2 separate regions of the Homo sapiens genome follow, and region 1 is linked to region 2. Evidence: promoter capture Hi-C in 16 types of primary human blood cells and fetal thymus (Javierre and others, 2016). All regions are on one chromosome and are shown on one strand. Each heading gives the region's core, a stretch centred on a gene start or on the middle of the fragment in contact. The rest is flanking DNA. Distances are from core to core; before and after follow the strand shown. Region 1 holds the start of LOC105375567 (a long non-coding RNA gene). Region 2 holds the start of ASB10 (ankyrin repeat and SOCS box containing 10).

The links. The method cuts DNA at HindIII sites, captures the fragments that hold promoters and counts their contacts. A CHiCAGO score of 5 or more calls a contact.
Region 1: a contact is called between a fragment that was not itself captured here and the fragment with the promoter of ASB10 in region 2, in 2 of 17 cell types (erythroblasts and M2 macrophages). The highest score is 6.9, in erythroblasts.

What each region holds. Positions count from the first base shown.
Region 1 is chr7:150,876,322-150,879,076 of GRCh38, forward strand. LOC105375567 (a long non-coding RNA gene) reads right to left here and starts at 809. Exons shown (of 5, transcript XR_928171.3): 1 at 688-809. The HindIII fragment of the contact is 2,523 bases long and covers 61-2,583 here.
Region 2 is chr7:151,185,845-151,188,655 of GRCh38, forward strand. ASB10 (ankyrin repeat and SOCS box containing 10) reads right to left here and starts at 1,406. Exons shown (of 6, transcript NM_001142459.2): 1 at 971-1,406; 2 at 548-815. The coding sequence starts at 1,286. RefSeq lists an enhancer at 2,404-2,493. The HindIII fragment of the contact is 17,456 bases long and covers 1-1,486 here.

The DNA.
Region 1 (2,755 bases), core at 72-2,571, 310 kb before region 2:
ACAGAACTCCGTACTCTTTTTGCTACCTCTTGTGAGTTTATAATTACGCCAAAACTAAAAAGCTTTCTTAAAAATATATATACAAATTCTCAAGTAAAATATAGTAAACTTGTTACTTTTTCAGGTATTTGATGCCTTTATCTGTAAATTCTTTCAAAGGAAATATGGCATGAACAAATATTGAGACAGGGATGTTTCACCAACTCTCAACTCCCCTTATTCAAGGGTTGGATCATAATAACTACATCTAAGTAATCCAGAAATTATCATTTTACTGAAAACCACGAAGACTATGTAGATGGAGAGAGATGAAAGAAGTACTATTTTTAAATCTGCAGCTTTATATCAATATACATAAATACATACCAGATAACCATATTTTATAAGAATACATATATATTCAAGGGTATATGTCAAATTTTAAAAAGAAAGGGGATTTGGCGTGGTCCTATCATTATGAAAGGGGATTCGGCGTGTTCCTGTCCTTATTTTACTCATCATGTCATCCCCTATCGTCTACCAGGCGTCCAGGCGCTGAGGACCAACCTTCTCTTCCTCCTCTGGCTAAGAAAACAATCAGCTTTCCCAGAGCCACCGCTGTCTGGACGCTAGATGGCGCCGCTGAGCTCCCCCCACCCCCCGCCTTTCCCCCACCCCCCCGCCTCCTCCCCACCACCCCGCCCACACCTGCGGTTCCTGCAGAGGGGTTGCTCAGGTGACCGGGCCGTTTGGACCACTTGGTTCAAATTCAGGATCCAGGTAGATGCAGCTGGGGAAAGCAGGGAGGAATGGGAGGCTACAGACAGAATGACCACATGCGTGCCTTCCTGCAGGGCTTGTCTTCTCCAAAGCCCCTGGTCAGTCACATGTTTTACTTGGCTCCCTTCCTTCTTCCTCGCCTTCTCCAGACCCTCTAAGCATGTGCCTTTGTCTCTTCCCAAACCTCCTGAGTCGCCTGAGGCCCTCTGGTGGTTCAATTCTTTATTGGAAGAACAAGCAACATGTTTACCCCAAGGGTTTCCACGGAGAAATACAAACACGTCTATTATTGGCAAGAAAAGCAGCACTGATTTGTTGAAGAACTAGGGAATTGTTCTAATTCTGCAGATTAGTCTCTTCTTGTCTTTGGTTGAAGTAACACAACCATCTCCATAGAGGTTCCTAAGCATAGAGGAAGATTGTATTGTAACAATACAAGGCTGCCGTAACTATGTAATTGGCCATAATTGAAGACAAGAATGGTGGGAAGTATGGGTTTGCAATTACCTAATATTCCTGTCCTAACCCATTTCAGGAGATCTTGCTGCGAGGTGCATGTTACCCATATAACAGACCCTGGGAGTATACCCAGGAGCAGTGGTGCGGATCACAGAAGGGGCTTTAAGACGCCCCTGGTGTTCTATGGCCATTAGCTACCAGTAGGAGCAGCTGCACCCCTGGCTGACCACAGATGTGGCTGTCAAACACAGTGAGTTAACAAAGGACAGTGAAACAGGGGGACGTGCAAGTCAGAGGAGATGCCTGCTTCCTCCTAGATCCCCACCATTTTCCTGGCTTTCTACTCTATTCCCAAAAAGAAGACACACTGGGGTAGAGGGCTGAGGGGAATAATTCAGTCCACAGATGCAGTTTTCTCTCTTTTTGCTACCATGGTTCTGAATGAAGAGCTAATATTATACTATTCCCACCTGTGATGAGCCCCAGTCCTTTTGATTCTTTTTCTTCTTCATCATCCATCCAAACGTCCCCAAGTGGTAAACAGGCCAGCAAACCTGTTATCCTCTCTTCTGTCCCTTCCACACATGTTTTAGCTTTAGTGGAAGCTCACAGAATAACCCTCAATTATCTGTTGTGGTCTGTGGCATTACCTTCTTAAAGGAAAGCTGATGGGTTCTTTCAACAGGTTTGGGGTCCACTCCCAGCTAACAATTAGTGTGACCTTAGCCGAGCACAGTGTCTCACGCCTGTTATCCCAGCACTTTGGGAGGCCGAGGCGGGTGGATCACGAGGTCGGAGATCAAGACCATCCTGGCTAACATGGTGAAACCCCATCTCCACGAAAAATAGAAAAGAAAATTAGCTGGGCGTGGTGGCGGGCGCCTGTAGTCCCAGCAACTCATGAGGCTGAGGCAGGAGAATGGTGTGAATCAGGGAGGCTGAGCTTGCAGTGAGCCGACATCGCGCCACTGCAGTCCAGCCTGGGTGACAGAGCAAGACTCCATCTCAAAAAAAATTGTGTGACCTTGTTTTCCTTTACCATTGTTTCTAGTTGCCCAGGAATCTAGTGGGAAGATGTGGCTATGGTCTGGGGCAGGATATTTTGGGAAGCCTGGTGTCCAGGGATATTAGGCAAACAAACTTTTGCATTGCACTTAATATTTCAGAAACCCAGCTGAATAGCTCTTATTTTTATGGCACTAAGAAAGTAAATCTTAAATCTTTGCTCTTAACACCATTAAGACAAAATTATTATGAAAATTGGACAAAGTGCCTTATAGCAGCTGATATATTTAAAACATCAATGATTGTACCCTTAGCATTGTTTTATTTTTATTTTTTAAAATTATCTAAACATTGTTTCAAAGCTTGTGAAACTACTAAAAGACAAAGGATTGTAAATGTCAATGAAAGGAAAAGTAAAACAGCAAGTATTTTAGCATACGGGGGCAATCAAGTCATAAAGAAAAAGGGTTAGTAGCTCACTAGACAATAAATTATTATAAAGAAGAGCCAAGAAAAGTATTGCTTTGAAACT
Region 2 (2,811 bases), core at 156-2,655:
GAGAGTCCCTTGAGCCCATGATCTGAGGGTGCCCTACCAATATGGAGATTCTAGACCTGTCTTGGAAAACCAGACCCTACCCAGAGGGACCCAGGCAGGTCCTCACTGGGGCCACCATCCTCTACTCCCTGTCTGGATCACTGGACAGTAAGCTCCCTGAGGGCAGGGCCTCAGGGACTTAGTTGCTGTTGTGCTTAGCACAGTGCCTGGAACATAGGATAAGCTCAGAAAGTGTTTTCAAAAATTTTAAGCAACACCACCTCCCCATAATGGAGCCAGGCAATTTCCCAATGCGGGCCATGCAACTGCACCCCTGCCACAGCCTCCCTCCACCCCTGGGAGACCAGAAAACTGTCCAAAGTCCAGGCCACTCCAAAGTTCATGGGGTCAACGGGTGGATGGCTTGGGAAGTAATTGCACCCTGACCCGCGCCCCAAGCCTGGACTGCTCTGTCCCAGGTCCCTGACATTTTCCCCCATCCTCCCTGAGAAGGCCTCTTTGCTTCCCTTCAGAGTGGAACTGGGGGTTGGGGTGAGGGGTCACTCACTCAAGGGTGCCAGGCCCCCGGCAGAGATGCAGGGGGCGTTTCCCATCCTGGTCAGCGATGTTGGGGTCGGCTCCTGCCACCAGCAGCACATGAACACAGGCAGTGTGGCCTGCAGCACAGGCCTCGTGCAGGGCGGTGCGGCCCCCAGGGGCACTGTCTGGCCTTGCTCGCCGCCTCAGCAGCAGCCGCAGGACTTCCGTGTGGCCACGGCTGGCTGCCACATGCAGTGGGGTGGTCAGCTCCTCTTCGTATGTCAGAGACCAGAGTCCTAGGGAGGGGAGACGTGGGCCTCAGATCCCCAGGGAAGGCAGAGACCTTCCAGCCAATGGGGTGAGGTGGGCAGAGGCAGGAAGAGGGAGCCCAGAGCTCCATCTGCAGCCTCCCCTCTCTCCCACTGAGAGCCCCCAGTGCCCCGGCCCGTACTCAGAGCACGGATGTTGAAGCGGAAATCCCTCCATCGCTCTGGGTCGCTGGTATCAAAGACGGAATCAGGAGCCAGGCCAGTACTGGAGTCCGCGAGGATGCGGGAGACACAGCCCACGTCCCCAGCCAGCACTGCCTGCCAGAAGGCAAGGGCAGGTCCTGAGGCTGTGCGGGTGACGATGGGTCCCGGGCCAGACTTGAGGTGCTCCTCAGACCCTCTGCTGGGCTTCTCCACCAGCCTGGCACAGAGGGGGTGTCTGTCATCGAGGGGCTCTCCCTGCCCCTTGCACTCTTCTGGAGACCAACTCATGAGCATGTGGGCAGGGAAAGGGGAGTGGGGAGGAGGAGAGGTATATGCCAAAGGCAGAGAGAGAGAGAGAGAGCAGGAGGGAAATACAGACAGACAGAAGGCCCCTGTGTCCCACGCTCCGAGGCTGACCTGGCCACGCATCCAGCAGGAGCTATTCTGGGCTCCACATGACTGTGTTCTTGGGCCAAGGTGTAGGCTATTGGGCAAGCTTTGAGGTCGGGGAGAAACAGCCGGGGGCTTCTCCTTTCACTCAAGCCCTTAGGACCTCTGTGGCCGAGGCAGTCAGCCCAGCCCCCTGGTTCTCAGCAACCCCCAGATGCCCCTCACCCCTCTGGTGGCTGCTCCAGCGAGGCTCTGCGGCCCGGCTCTCCAGCAGCAGGTCGGCTGTGCTGTGCGGGGGGAACAGCTCCTGCAACCTTGCCAGGTCCCCGGTGTAGAGGGCATTCTGCAGGGCCATGTCTTGGCAGAGCAGTGGTGATGGCCGAGGGGGCTCCCAGGCTGGGCGGGAGTGGGGCCTCCAGATCCGGCAGGCCGGGGCGGAGGGAAGGCACCCCAGATGGTGTCCCCAGTGGGGAGAGGAGTTCTTTCCCCAGGGCATGGCTTGTTCTGGGAGAGCCAAAGCAGCACGACTCCCAGCGATGTTGCTGGTGGACTGGGCAGGTGGGTGCTGGGCCCGAGCTGGGTGGGGCCCAGCATGGGAGGCGCAGGGGAGCACAACATCAGGCAAAGCCATAAATAGCCCTGACTGGCCCAGCTGTCAGTCAGGCCGGGTGGGGGAATTAGGGAGGGGCAGGAGAACAAGTGAGGCCTGAGCCCGCCAACCCTGAGCTTCACCCCAGGGCTGTATGACCTCAGGGTGGAAAGGGACCACCCGGACCATGCTGCCCAGTCCGTCATCTCGGCATTAAAGGGAAGTGAATTTCCCAAGATCACGCAGAGAGCTTGTTGCAGAGCCAGGACTGGAACCCAGGGCCTTGAGCTCTTTCTTGTTCACCAAATCGGCCTCCAGCTGCCTGGGCTCTGATCCCACTGGGAAGGCCTGTGGGTGCCAGATAATATTTCCTGCCCTTCCAAATGTCATCTGTTAGCCCTGCACCTTCCCACTCCCAAACCAAGGGAGGAGTTCACAGTAGTGACACAGATTGCCCTCGCTGTGTGAGGCACCCCTCAGGGGGCTCCCTTAGACAGACGTGTGCCTGAGTAACAGAGCGTAACCCACAGGCAAGCCACAGAAACTCCCCATGCTCGTCCTTGATGCCAACCCCCCCATCTCCCTGGATGACCTTGGGTGGCATCTCTCCCCTGCTGTGGTTACATGGGGTCTCTTCACTAGAGAGTGAGAAAGGAGAAATGTCTCTGTGTACTCAGGCACTGACTTTTGTTTGGGGGCCGGGTGGATCAAAAGGAAAAAAAGAGAGAAAGAAGATGAGAAACCAGGCCCTCGGGCTCAGCTCTGACCCACCACTGCCCACCATGGGCTTGAGGTGCTCCAGCCCCATTGGTCTTGCCCCTTTGGCTCACGCTGGCTTAA